Regions from separate parts of the Homo sapiens genome. Here all the other regions are linked to region 3. The links are contacts of gene promoters, found by promoter capture Hi-C in human tissues and cell types (Jung and others, 2019). All regions are on one chromosome and are shown on one strand. Each heading gives the region's core, a stretch centred on a gene start or on the middle of the fragment in contact. The rest is flanking DNA. Distances are from core to core; before and after follow the strand shown. Region 1 overlaps RAB8B (RAB8B, member RAS oncogene family). Region 2 overlaps LOC101928972 (a long non-coding RNA gene). Region 3 holds the start of TPM1 (tropomyosin 1). Region 4 overlaps TLN2 (talin 2).

Region 1 (2,700 bases), core at 168-2,667, 220 kb before region 3:
CCCAGCGAAACGTTTTACAATCAACTGATTTACATGCTACTTAGTTACAGCACATTTTCACTGTCTGATACCCTCAGACTCTATTTGAAAAGGTCTAGTCCAATCACTGTCAAAAATTAACACACTGATTAATAAAGTGCAGCCACTGAACCACTAATACTGCTGCAAAAATCTTCATGTACCTTATCCATAAGACCACAAAAATGTTCACAAAAAAACTAGATTTCTTCAGTTTCAGCGGGGAACAGACAATTATCTGTCATTAAATTCATCTACAAATAGAAAAAATAATGCACTGTATGTACATTATTAAGCAAAGTGGAATATTTATTGGGTCATTTTATCATGCAGAAAGTGAATTTCCTAAGGTCTTAGCTCAATGTATATACAATCTAGCAAAGCTAAATGTAAGAAAATAGCAAGGACAATTTATTTCTATATAACAGAGCATATACTCCCAATTTGCTGCTACTTCAAAGAGCACTTTTAGACTCATCTAACTTTTACAGGCTCTTTCAAGTGAAGTTCATGGAGACTAGTTATTAATCCATATAAGACAAAAGAAGAAAGAAGAAATATAACCAAAGCAAAGCATTCTGTTAAAAAAAAAAGTAATAAAAGCTAACCACAGAATATGTCAGTTTTGGTTTGCAGACAACCCCTGAGATTATATAAACCAAAGCGTTAAGACACCAAATAGTCAGAGGTAAATTACTAAGAGAATTACATTCATACATGGTGTCATAGCACTTATCTTTTAGAAGGTACTTTGTTACCATCCAGAAAGCGTTAACTGCTTGGATTTTTTCAGGAAATAGTGAATATTAAGATGTTTCTAAAAAATTATCTTTTCCTTTTGAAAATGTATCTAATTTGAAGATAGTAGAATTACAATAAACTTTCAATCACGGAACTACTAATTATACTAGAACAGCAACGAATGACTTTTAAGCCTATAGGTAATTACCAAAAAAAAAAAAATTAAGGAGGCTGAAATTTGTCAACAATAAGTTTAGTATATCTATTAAAAATAGCTTGGGCATATTTGCAGCTGCTAAATTGTTCCTATATTTTCAAATAAGTACAAAAGATTGACTGGTCCAAGCATTCTAATGACATATCTTAATTTGAAGAGAATTCTCTGTGGTAACAAGCAATCCCTTTCCACTGCCATCTCCTGTTCTTATCTATCCAGCATGATAGTAGCCTTTGTGAAGCAAAACAGGCATACCAGGAAGAATAATTATTAACAGAATTCATTTCCCTCATCCCCTCTGTTTTATCCCCCCTGTGTTATGACACTGAAGGCTAGAGCAACAACGACATAGTGATCTGAATTTGGCACACAAGTTAACACTAAATACCTTGTGATGGTTTCATCTACAAAAGTATACCAGTACCAGTGTTTGTTGAGAAAGGCAACTAAGCTTTTGGTTGGCTTTAGCCCAAATGACTGGACTAAGTTCTGTAACAATGAACCAAAACAGATGGAACTGGGTTCTACACAATCAACAACAGCTGTTTGAAAACTGAAACCTTGGTCCTGTTTTCTCTAATGAAAAGGCAAGACTTTTCCTAGAGGCTGCACTAGGTCTAAGTACTTTTATTTCTAAAAACATCTGCCAAATAAAACCAACCAAAACTCATTATTTTCACCATTACCAAGAGCTAGCTCTATTAAATTTATATCAACAAGTTAATCTGTCTCTATATAGGGAAGGTTTCCGCAAACTAAAATCTAAACCTAACTTTTGTAGACAGGGATTATGGTAGGAATTTGGTATTACAACTAAACCAGCCAGCTAAGGAGTGAACCTAAGAAAAAATATATTACATATCCTTATTGACAGAATCACAGTTAGATGCTGCACTAAAACCCTAAATGGTATATCTCTCAGCCCACGTAAAATTTCAGCTCAAGAAGTTCACAAATAGAAACAGATAATAATGTTCAAATATTACTTAAGAGTGATTACACTTAAGTCAAACATGGGAAAGAATAGCAAATACAAACCCCAGGGAAAAATGAGATTATGGTGATTTCCAAATGCAGTTTCTATAGATTAGGCAGAGGTAATCATTTTAAAGTGATTCATTCAGCTACCCAGACTCTGGAAAACAGGTCGGGGATGAGGCAAAGCTCTTAATCTGAAGAAATAAAGAAATTGTGGCCTTTGATGACAAGATGGGCATTTCAGTAAATTTTTTTAATGACTTTAATGATTCTTATTTAAGAAAAAGCCCTTAAATAAATGCTACCAAGGCAGTAATATTTGACCATATGAACCAGACCAAATACCCTTTAATTTTAGTATATTAACCTCTGCTGTAAATGCTCTTTTAACATTGCCACATGTACAAATTTGTCTAGAACTTCACGACACAAAAGTGTGCAAATATGAGTCTAAGATTGTGCTGAAATAGGGAAAGGCTAACACTGATGTGCAAAGTAAAAAAGAAAGATAACCGCTTCTGCAACAGGTAATAAAACAAGGAAAAAACGAGTTAGGTCCTGCATGTGTCTCCACTTCATTGCTTCCATGTTTGAAAAAGGGAGTCTGTTCTTTTGCTAGGCCATGAGGCTGGAATCCACTTGGCATACTGTGTTGAGAGGTCTAAGTTCAGTGGTGCTCTCAGCAGCAGCCGGGAGGTGTGATTCTGAGGCTGGGTGACCTGTGCTTTCAGAGAAGCAGGAAAGGG
Region 2 (2,700 bases), core at 68-2,567, 140 kb before region 3:
AAATTAGCTGGGCGTGATGGTGCGTGCCTGTAATCCCGGCTACTCGGGAGGCTGAGGCAGGAGAATCGCTTGAACCAGGGAGTTGGAAGTTGCAGTGAGCTGATATCACGCCACAGCACTCCAGCCTGGCAACAGAGCGAGACTCCGTCTCAAAAAAAGAGGCCATAAAAACCAATGTCTAGGCCGGGTGCGGTGGCTCACACCTGTAATCCCAGCACTTCGGGAGGCTGAGGTGGGCAGATCACGAGGTCAGGAGTTCGACACCAGCCTGGCCAACGGGGAGAAACCCCGTCTCTACTAAAAATACAAAAATTAGCCGGGCGTGGTGGCGGGTGCCTGTAATCCCAGCTAGTCAGGAGGCTGAGGCAGCAGAATTGCTTGAACCCAGAGGCAGAGGTTGCAGTGAGCCGAGATTGCGCCACTGCACTCCAGCCTGGTGACAGGGCGAAACTCCATCTCGAGAAAAAACAAAACAAAAATCCAATGACTATAGAGATGTATTCCAGGGTTTCTCAAAATGTGTACCTCAGAACGCTAAGTGAGTCAGCAGATGCTAGCAGGTGATACAAGAAGAAAAGATTTCAGGGCTAAGCTTTTTGAGAAATGCTGCTATCAGTTGTTTAGATGGTGCGGCTTCTCTGACGTCAGTATGCAGAGGCGCAGCTGTGAGTCTCCACCGCAAGGTGTGGCACACGGCTTTTCCCACACTCCATTCTGATGGCGCATCTTATGGGGCTTGTGTCCTCAGACTGTATGTTAGGAAACTCATTTAATCCAAACCCTTTTTTTTGCTTGTTTGTTCGTTTTTTGTTTTTGTTTTTTTGAGACAGAGTCTCACTCTATCGCCCAGGCTGGAGTGCAGTGGCGCCATCTCGGCTCACTGCAGCCTCTGCCTCCTGGGTTCCGGCGATTCTCCTGCCTGAGCCTCCCGAGTAGCTGGGACTACAGGCGCCCGCCACCACACCTGGCTAATTTTTTGTATTTTTAGTAGAGATGGGTTTCACCATATTGGCCAGGCTGGTCTTGAACTCCTGACTTCAGGTGATCCACCCGCCTTGGCCTCCCAAAGTGCTGGTATTACAGGCGTGAGAGCCACCGCACTCGGCCCTTATTTTTATTTTTATTTTTTTTAAATTTATTTATTTTGAGACAGGGTCTCTCTCTGTCACCCAGCTTGGAGTGCAGTGGCATGATCTTGGCTCACTGCAACCTCTACCTCCCAGGCTCAAGGTATCCTCTCACCTCGGCTCAAGGTATCCTCTCACCTGGGCTCAAGGTATCCTCTCACGTCGGCTCAAGGTATCCTCTCACCTCGGCTCAAGGTATCCTTCCACCTCAGCTGGGACCACAGGCCCGCACCACCACGCCCAGCTAATTTTTATATTTTTTTGGTAGAGATGGGGTTTCACCATGTTGCCTCGGCTGGTCTCAGACTCCTTGCCTGAAGTGATCTACCTGCCTCGGGCTCACAAAGTGCTGAGATTAGAGGCTAAGCCACCCCTCGAAACCTAACCCCTTAGTTTTAGATATGAAAACACTAAATAGCAAAGTCCTACTATCAAGTTGAAAATCAGCATGTTTACAGGAAGCTGTGAGGAAAGACGGCAGCATCCATTCCCAGAATTCCTGACAGACTGGACTGAGAACACCCGTCCCTGCTCCCAGGCTTCTCCTGAGTCCCAGGGCAGGGCTCCCTGCTGCCGCCTCTGTCACTGTCAGATCCACAGAAAGATCAGAGAAGAGGGTGGGGCGCTGTGATGGCTCTCTCTCCTCCACACCTGGGGAAGCTGCTTCACCCTCAAGCTCTGGGGGACTGGCAGATGTTGTACTAACCTGAAATTAAAATCATCTGTGCAGAAGCATATTTACCCAGAATTCTGAATGAACATTCTGTATATTGTGTTTTTGAGAAAAAGACTAATGTCAAGTAATTAAACTAACTGGCATTTTTTGCTTTGTATTGTTCTGTATTTTGAATGAATTATAGGCTAGGTTAGAGGGTCATATCACACCCAGGCTAATTTCCCACATTGACATTTAAAGTGCTGTAAAAATGATCTGCACAATGAAGTGTTTTTACAGAGAAATTATTTGAATTTCTTGAGGGCATGAATTATATTTACATTGTATCCCTAATGACTGACTAACACAGGCTTGGCATATATTAGCCACATAGTGACAAATATGTTTGCATTAATTAGTAAATTACAATCTAATGAGCAGGTTTTAATAAAATTAAATAATGGTAATAATTCACTCACAGCACTAATGGAATCCTACCTTTTCAGATTAATTGACTTATCATGGTCAAGGACCATGAATTCTGGTTAAGGCTTATTAACAGAGGCTATTTGACAGTTTTCACTTGTAATCTCTTGGTTTCATAAACATGTTTCATTCAGGTGATAATAAATGAGATCATTTCTATATTTGACTCTTCAATACATACACACAGAATTGGAATGAGCTGGTAGTTATCAAGTCCTATCTTCCAGGCACTGCAGAATTCCCCTTTCAACCACTTGGTCTGTGTTTAAACATCCCCATAGATAACACACATAATAACAACCTTGAAGAAATGTGTGATCCTGGAGGGCCTTCTGAGTCATCACAGGATTAAGTCATGTTAGTAAATGATAGTTTGTGTTCTATAGTTTCATTCAACAAAAGCTCTTTTAGCACCTACAATATATAAAGCAA
Region 3 (2,700 bases), core at 1-2,500:
AGGGGGGTGCAGCAGGCAGCGTGATCCCGAAGGGGAGGGGTGTGGGTGCACAGAACCAGAAGGACAGGGACAGCGGGAGAGACAGAGGGAAAGACAGGGAGGGAGAGAGAGAAAGAGAAAGAGTTAGCCATTCGTGCGCCACGCCGTGCCGCGCGCCCCGGGTACCTTGGCGGCGGCCTCTTCGGCGGCCAGGAGGCTGTCCTCCGCCTTGTGCAGCTCCTCCAGCACCCGGTCCCGCTCGTCCTCCGACACCCGCAGCAACTTCTCCTTGGCCGCGATGTCCTCCTCGAGCTGGGGGCAGCGGCGGGCGGGCGCGGGCGGCCGGCACGGACCGGGTGTTAGACACACACAACACACGGGCGTCGGGTTGGCTGGGGCCCCTCGGGCTCGGGGCGCCGCCGAGTTGGAGTGCAAAGGACCCGAGGTAACTTCCTCTTTACCCGAGCTGGAACCGCTCCGCGGCTCACCCCGCACACCCACCTGCCCTGGGACGAGACTCCTGCCGAGGTCTCAGCGGGCTCAAGTCCACTACTTGGGGACACAGAAGAACGCCACTGCTGGCCTGGCTTTCGGGCTGTAGCCTCCATTCCGCCCCATCTTTGTTCTTAGGTAACAACTCCAGGACTCCCTTCTCCTCCCCAAGTTTAAGGTTCCTTTCTCCCCAGTCAAAAGTCAACGAACTTCTAACACTTGAGTTACTCGACCCCCTTTCTCCATCCCTCGCCCTTCCTTCAAACGTCCCCAGGAACCGGGTGTCCTCCTCCCTCCCCCAAACTGATTCCCAGTCCTGAGAATAAAGCGCCTCTAGGACTTGATTTCGCGGGCCATGGGAACCAGAGAAGGGAAATAAGCGTCCTCAGACCAGACTAAGTTAGACTAAGCCTGGCTCTTGCGTTTCCCTTCCTTCTTTCCAGACGCGCGCCCTGGCCGCCCTGGGTGGTGGTGGGGGTAGGGTGGTGGCTCCCCGAGTCCTCGGGGTGGGGATCCAGCCGGGGGTGCCAGGCTCGAGTCCCGGCGCTCTGGGCGCGGGCGCAGGGCCGGGGAGGCGCAGACCTGCTTGCTCCTGTCTTCCGCCGCCTTCTTGTCGGCCTCCGCCTGCTCAGCTCGATCCAAGGCGTTCTCCTTGTCGAGCTTCAGCATCTGCATCTTCTTCTTGATGGCGTCCATGGTGGCGGCGGCGAGGGGCCCTGGGGCTGCAGCAGGAGCGGCGGGGCGAGCGCGCGGTCGGGCGGAGGAGCGGGAGTGCGAGCGCGGAGCCGCCTGCTTCTCCCAGATATGTACTTTCCCAAGGGGGCGACCGCATTCCTCAAGACAGCCAATACTTTTTTGGAAAAGCTTTTTTCTCCTGCCCCCCTTCCTCCTCTCCTCCCTCCGCCCCGTGCCCCCTCCCCGCTCCTCCCGCGGGGGCCGCTCGCCCATTCGCTGCCGGCCGCCGGCCTCCCAGTTGACGGTGGATATGACTATATATGGGGACCCGAGCCGCCGAGGCGGCGGCCGGAGAGGCCGCCCTGTTTCTAAACCTGCGCGCCAGGGAGAGGGCGTTGGGGCCGAGCCGGGGCCGAGGCGCAACCCTCCGCCCTCCGCGTGCCCTTCTCCCAGGGCCGGCACCCAGCCATTAGGGTCCCCAACCGAGCCCGCCCTGAGCTGCCGGAGGCCGGGAGAGCGCGGACCAGGTGGTGGATGCGCGTCGCCCCCCTGTGCCGTCCCCCGGCGCGCTTAGCCAAAGGCCCGGGGGCTTCCCAGCCGTGCTGCACCCCGCGTCAGGGTCAGTGCGCTCTCGGCACCCGCCAGCGCCTCCCCGGCAGCTCTCAGCCAGCCAGGTGTCATCCTGCGCGCTCACGCTCTGGAAACTCAACTGCAGCAGAGAAAGGGAGAACGTGGGAGAAAGCCTGGGGCGGCTCTTGAGACTTTCTCTGCGGGCGCGGGTCAGAGAGGCAGGGGGCGGCACAGCGACAGCACACGGAGTCTTGTTTTCTGCCTGCCCTTTCCCCCAGCGGAGGGACAGTCAAATACTTTAGGGACACAGGACTCAGTGGCGTACTTCTGTGCTTGCTGTGCAGTGCCTCCAAAAAGGTGTGCATGTGTGCGTGTGTGTGCGGGTGGCAGTCTAAGGGGAAAGAACATTGAGTTTAGACTCAGGCAATTTGGTCTGTGGTCTCTACTCTGCCACCAGCAACTGTGAGACCTTGTTTGCTGCCCGCGGCTTCCTCAACTTTAAATCCAGCGGGTAGATAATCCCCGAGGTCCCTCCAGATATAACTTGTTATCATTTTTCTTGCACTGATTTTAGGGAGTCGGCCTTCCATGTTAGATGCTTAGGTGCCAGGTTTCGGAAAACATGGGATCGGCGTTAACCTGGCTAAGTCATTGCATCCGCAGCCGCAACTCTGAGGAGGCTCTGCCGTGTGAGCTGTGCTTGGAAGGAGGAGGATTTCCCCCAACACTTCTTATTTTTAACTACTCCTCCCATCTCCCAAGGGGGAAAGGCTGCTTTTTTTCAGAGCTTCAGTGGGAGGGGAGGAGAGGGGGCTGCCCCCAAGCCCTGAGATCAGCTGAGGCAGGGTTGGTGAGGGTCTTGTTAATAGTCCCCACAGAATAATTCACAGTCTGTACTGCATGGTTACCAAATATTCCCCGGACGGTATCTGAGCAGATTAGGCAGGCCAAACAACTTGTAAGTCCTTCAGAGAATGATCAAAT
Region 4 (2,700 bases), core at 184-2,683, 210 kb after region 3:
ATGGACTTTAAAAAAAAAAAAAGGAAAGATGGCTACCAGTTCTGAAAAGTTGTCTTTTTCCTGGGTAAAAATCAAAGCCAAACAGCACTGGCATTTCTGTGGCTGAGCACTGAGAGAGTTATAGACCAAGCACACATTGCCCAGTGGTGAAAAAGAAACCAGGGCAACACGACATCAAGGTGGAGCTTGTTCTGTCCTCTGGACACCCGAGGCACGGGATCCACCTTGGGAAGAACACTGGACACCACTGTGTAGGTGTTATCAGACCATTAGGGTTCTGGTCTAAATTCACCACCATCTCCTTTGCTGCTAAAACAACTCAGGAAGTTGAAAAGAAGCTTTGGAGAAGTGGAACAAGTATAAAGACTGTGGTCCCAGGCTCATGGGTTGGAGCATCACAGTTTTGCCGGGGGGTGGTCAGATTAGACCTGTGTGACAACATTCCGTGACTCTAGGTCAATTTGGTTAAGCTGCCCTCAGGTCACACAGTGTTGAAGATGTGGGTGGTACCTTTCAGGCATTGAGAGATGATGGCCAGGCCCAGCAATACTTTTCTCTGTATGTGTGGTAAAATATATGTAACACAAAACTTACCCTTTTATCCAATTTTAAGTGTACAATTCAGTGGCATTACGGACATTCACACTTTGTGCCAACAGTAGTAGATTTTTAAGAGTGCCTACTGTGTACCAAGTATTTTGTTAGGCACTTCTACATACAATGACTTAATTCTCACCAAAAAAAAAAAAAAAGATCGTATATTGGAATTATCTTTATCCTTATTTTTACAGTGAGAAAACCCAGGCTCAGGAAGGTAGATGATTGGGCCAAGGTGATGTGGCAGCATGAAGCATCTAAACCAGAATCTAAACCTAAATCTGACTCCAAAATGAGGCACTTTAACTAGCCAAAGCCACCCCTTGGGGCATCAGTGAGAAACGGTTTGTGCCAGAGGTTCAAAGTCAGCTTGCTAACGCTCCCATGTGAAACGTCAGACAGGAGGGATACAAGTCTTCTCCAGCTCTCCATTCATAATGCCACATCTTGAACCATGAAAGGTGCTAATCCTTTTTCTTTATAACCTACATTATCAAAATACAATTTCAATGCACTTCTAATGGATCTGAATGATGGTAGCATTTCAGAAGTTCTGAGACAGACTTGTGCATTCTTTCTTATTGCTGACCAAGTCTTGCTCTAAGAGTATTCAGGACAGACATGAATTTAGTTCTACTGGACTCATTTTGGACTGGTGGAGTATAGAATTTGGTGACTGAAATACGGAAATGATCCATTGTAAGACACTCTCGTATAAAAGGAACTCTTGTGTAGTCAGTCCCCAAATAAATTATAGTAGGCTCTAATTTATATATATTAAATATATAAATAATGTATATTTTAATAACCGTGAGATTAAGAGCTTTTCTGGAAATTCATTCTGCCAAAGAATGTCAGGCACATAACAGATTAAAGCACCAGGGAAATCACAGAATTTTTGACTCCAAACTCCTCATCTCATTTTGCAGATGAGGAAACGGAGGCTTGTGGGAGCTCTTCATGGCGGCTCCTGAAGTCTCTCACGCTCTTGCCTCAGGTGTCCTCAGCTACTCTATGGGTTCCACGCCCGAGTCCACTTTACAGTGTGGAATACTCTGTCAGACTTTTTATTTCCCAAATTTTAAGATTTTCAAAAATGGAATTTCTTTAAAATTAAGTGCTACGTCTTTAGCAGGGGTAGATCTGATAGGATCATCTCATCACAACTGATTTTACGAGCCTCTCCCACATCTTCCGCTGCCTGGAGTTTTTTTTTTTTTTAAACACAAGCTTGTAATAATAGATATTCAACTTGGAAATATTTTTGACACCCACAGATTTTTCTGGTAATGGCAACTGTTGTAATGTTCTTTGACGAATTTTTATTTTTCTTCCCACAACATCTCTATGCTTTAAAACAGATACGGCAGAAGTTCTTATCTCTGGGAGACATTTGCTCTGATAAGAAAGTATTAAGATTCTCCCTAGAAAGGCTGACTGGGATGGCACAGGGATGGAGGGCTAATGTTAGATACTACAGTTTGGGCAGAGTACCCTGATGAAACCTGCCTTCTGACTGCTGTGTCCCTATTTTCCTGTATGCCAGGTTTATGACTAAGACGCACTGCCCACCCTACCTCTACTGCTGAAATCAGACACCAATACTTAACGTGTCCTCATACCATACAACTTCTAGCCTTAGAGAAAATGGCATCTCTCCAAGCCAAGGAGACATGGTCAAAAACCCAGGTGCCCCATCAGTTCCAGCTCCCATTAGCATGCAGAATGGAATAGGGGAGAAGGTAGGAAGGACACACACTTAACCATATCACAAGAAGGAAACAGAATTGGCTTGGTCTTCAAAGGACTTTCCTAAATAAAAGAATCCCAATTAAAATGCAGAATTTGTTAATGGAACAGTCCCCACTGCAGCTGAGAGACTGGGGAGACTAAGAAGAACAACATGGTGCACAGTGACTCCGGGGAAGAATCTGCAGGCTGGGCCCTCTCCTGGAGCTCTCATTCTCACCTTCTCACCAGAGAGGCTCACCTGGTTGGTGTCTTAAGGCCCTCTTTAGCTGAGATGTTACTGACCTGACCAGGGTCAGTCAGATCTCTCCTTCTGGTTTATAAAGGGGATAACGGAATCCTCGCTTCTGGGTG

The links. Contacts are between HindIII fragments. The study calls those that stand out against the background at their distance.
Region 1: a contact is called between a fragment that was not itself captured here and the fragment with the promoter of TPM1 in region 3, in 1 of the 25 tissues and cell types used here (dorsolateral prefrontal cortex).
Region 2: a contact is called between a fragment that was not itself captured here and the fragment with the promoter of TPM1 in region 3, in 1 of the 25 tissues and cell types used here (lymphoblastoid cells).
Region 4: a fragment that was not itself captured here is called in contact with the fragment with the promoter of TPM1 in region 3 in 5 of the 25 tissues and cell types used here (bladder, dorsolateral prefrontal cortex, heart right ventricle and 2 more).

The regions. Positions count from the first base shown.
Region 1 is chr15:63,263,657-63,266,356 of GRCh38, reverse strand. RAB8B (RAB8B, member RAS oncogene family) reads right to left here. Exons shown (of 8, transcript NM_016530.3): 8 at 1-2,700. Among named protein-coding and RNA genes, the nearest start is that of APH1B, 13 kb to the left of the region's middle. The HindIII fragment of the contact is 4,184 bases long and covers 1-2,700 here.
Region 2 is chr15:63,177,201-63,179,900 of GRCh38, reverse strand. It overlaps LOC101928972 (a long non-coding RNA gene), which reads left to right. Exons shown (of 4, transcript XR_932355.4): 4 at 1,586-1,834. Among named protein-coding and RNA genes, the nearest start is that of RAB8B, 11 kb to the left of the region's middle. The HindIII fragment of the contact is 8,403 bases long and covers 1-2,700 here.
Region 3 is chr15:63,041,297-63,043,996 of GRCh38, reverse strand. It overlaps TPM1 (tropomyosin 1), which reads right to left and starts at 1,250. Exons shown (of 10, transcript NM_001018005.2): 1 at 1,054-1,250. The coding sequence starts at 1,167. RefSeq lists enhancers at 1-478, 1,392-2,306. The HindIII fragment of the contact is 3,976 bases long and covers 188-2,700 here.
Region 4 is chr15:62,830,161-62,832,860 of GRCh38, reverse strand. The region is part of intron 54 of TLN2 (talin 2); the gene reads right to left. It overlaps LOC105370854 (a long non-coding RNA gene), which reads left to right. Exons shown (of 7, transcript XR_007064671.1): 7 at 1-2,700. Among named protein-coding and RNA genes, the nearest start is that of MIR190A, 7.6 kb to the right of the region's middle. The HindIII fragment of the contact is 3,371 bases long and covers 1-2,700 here.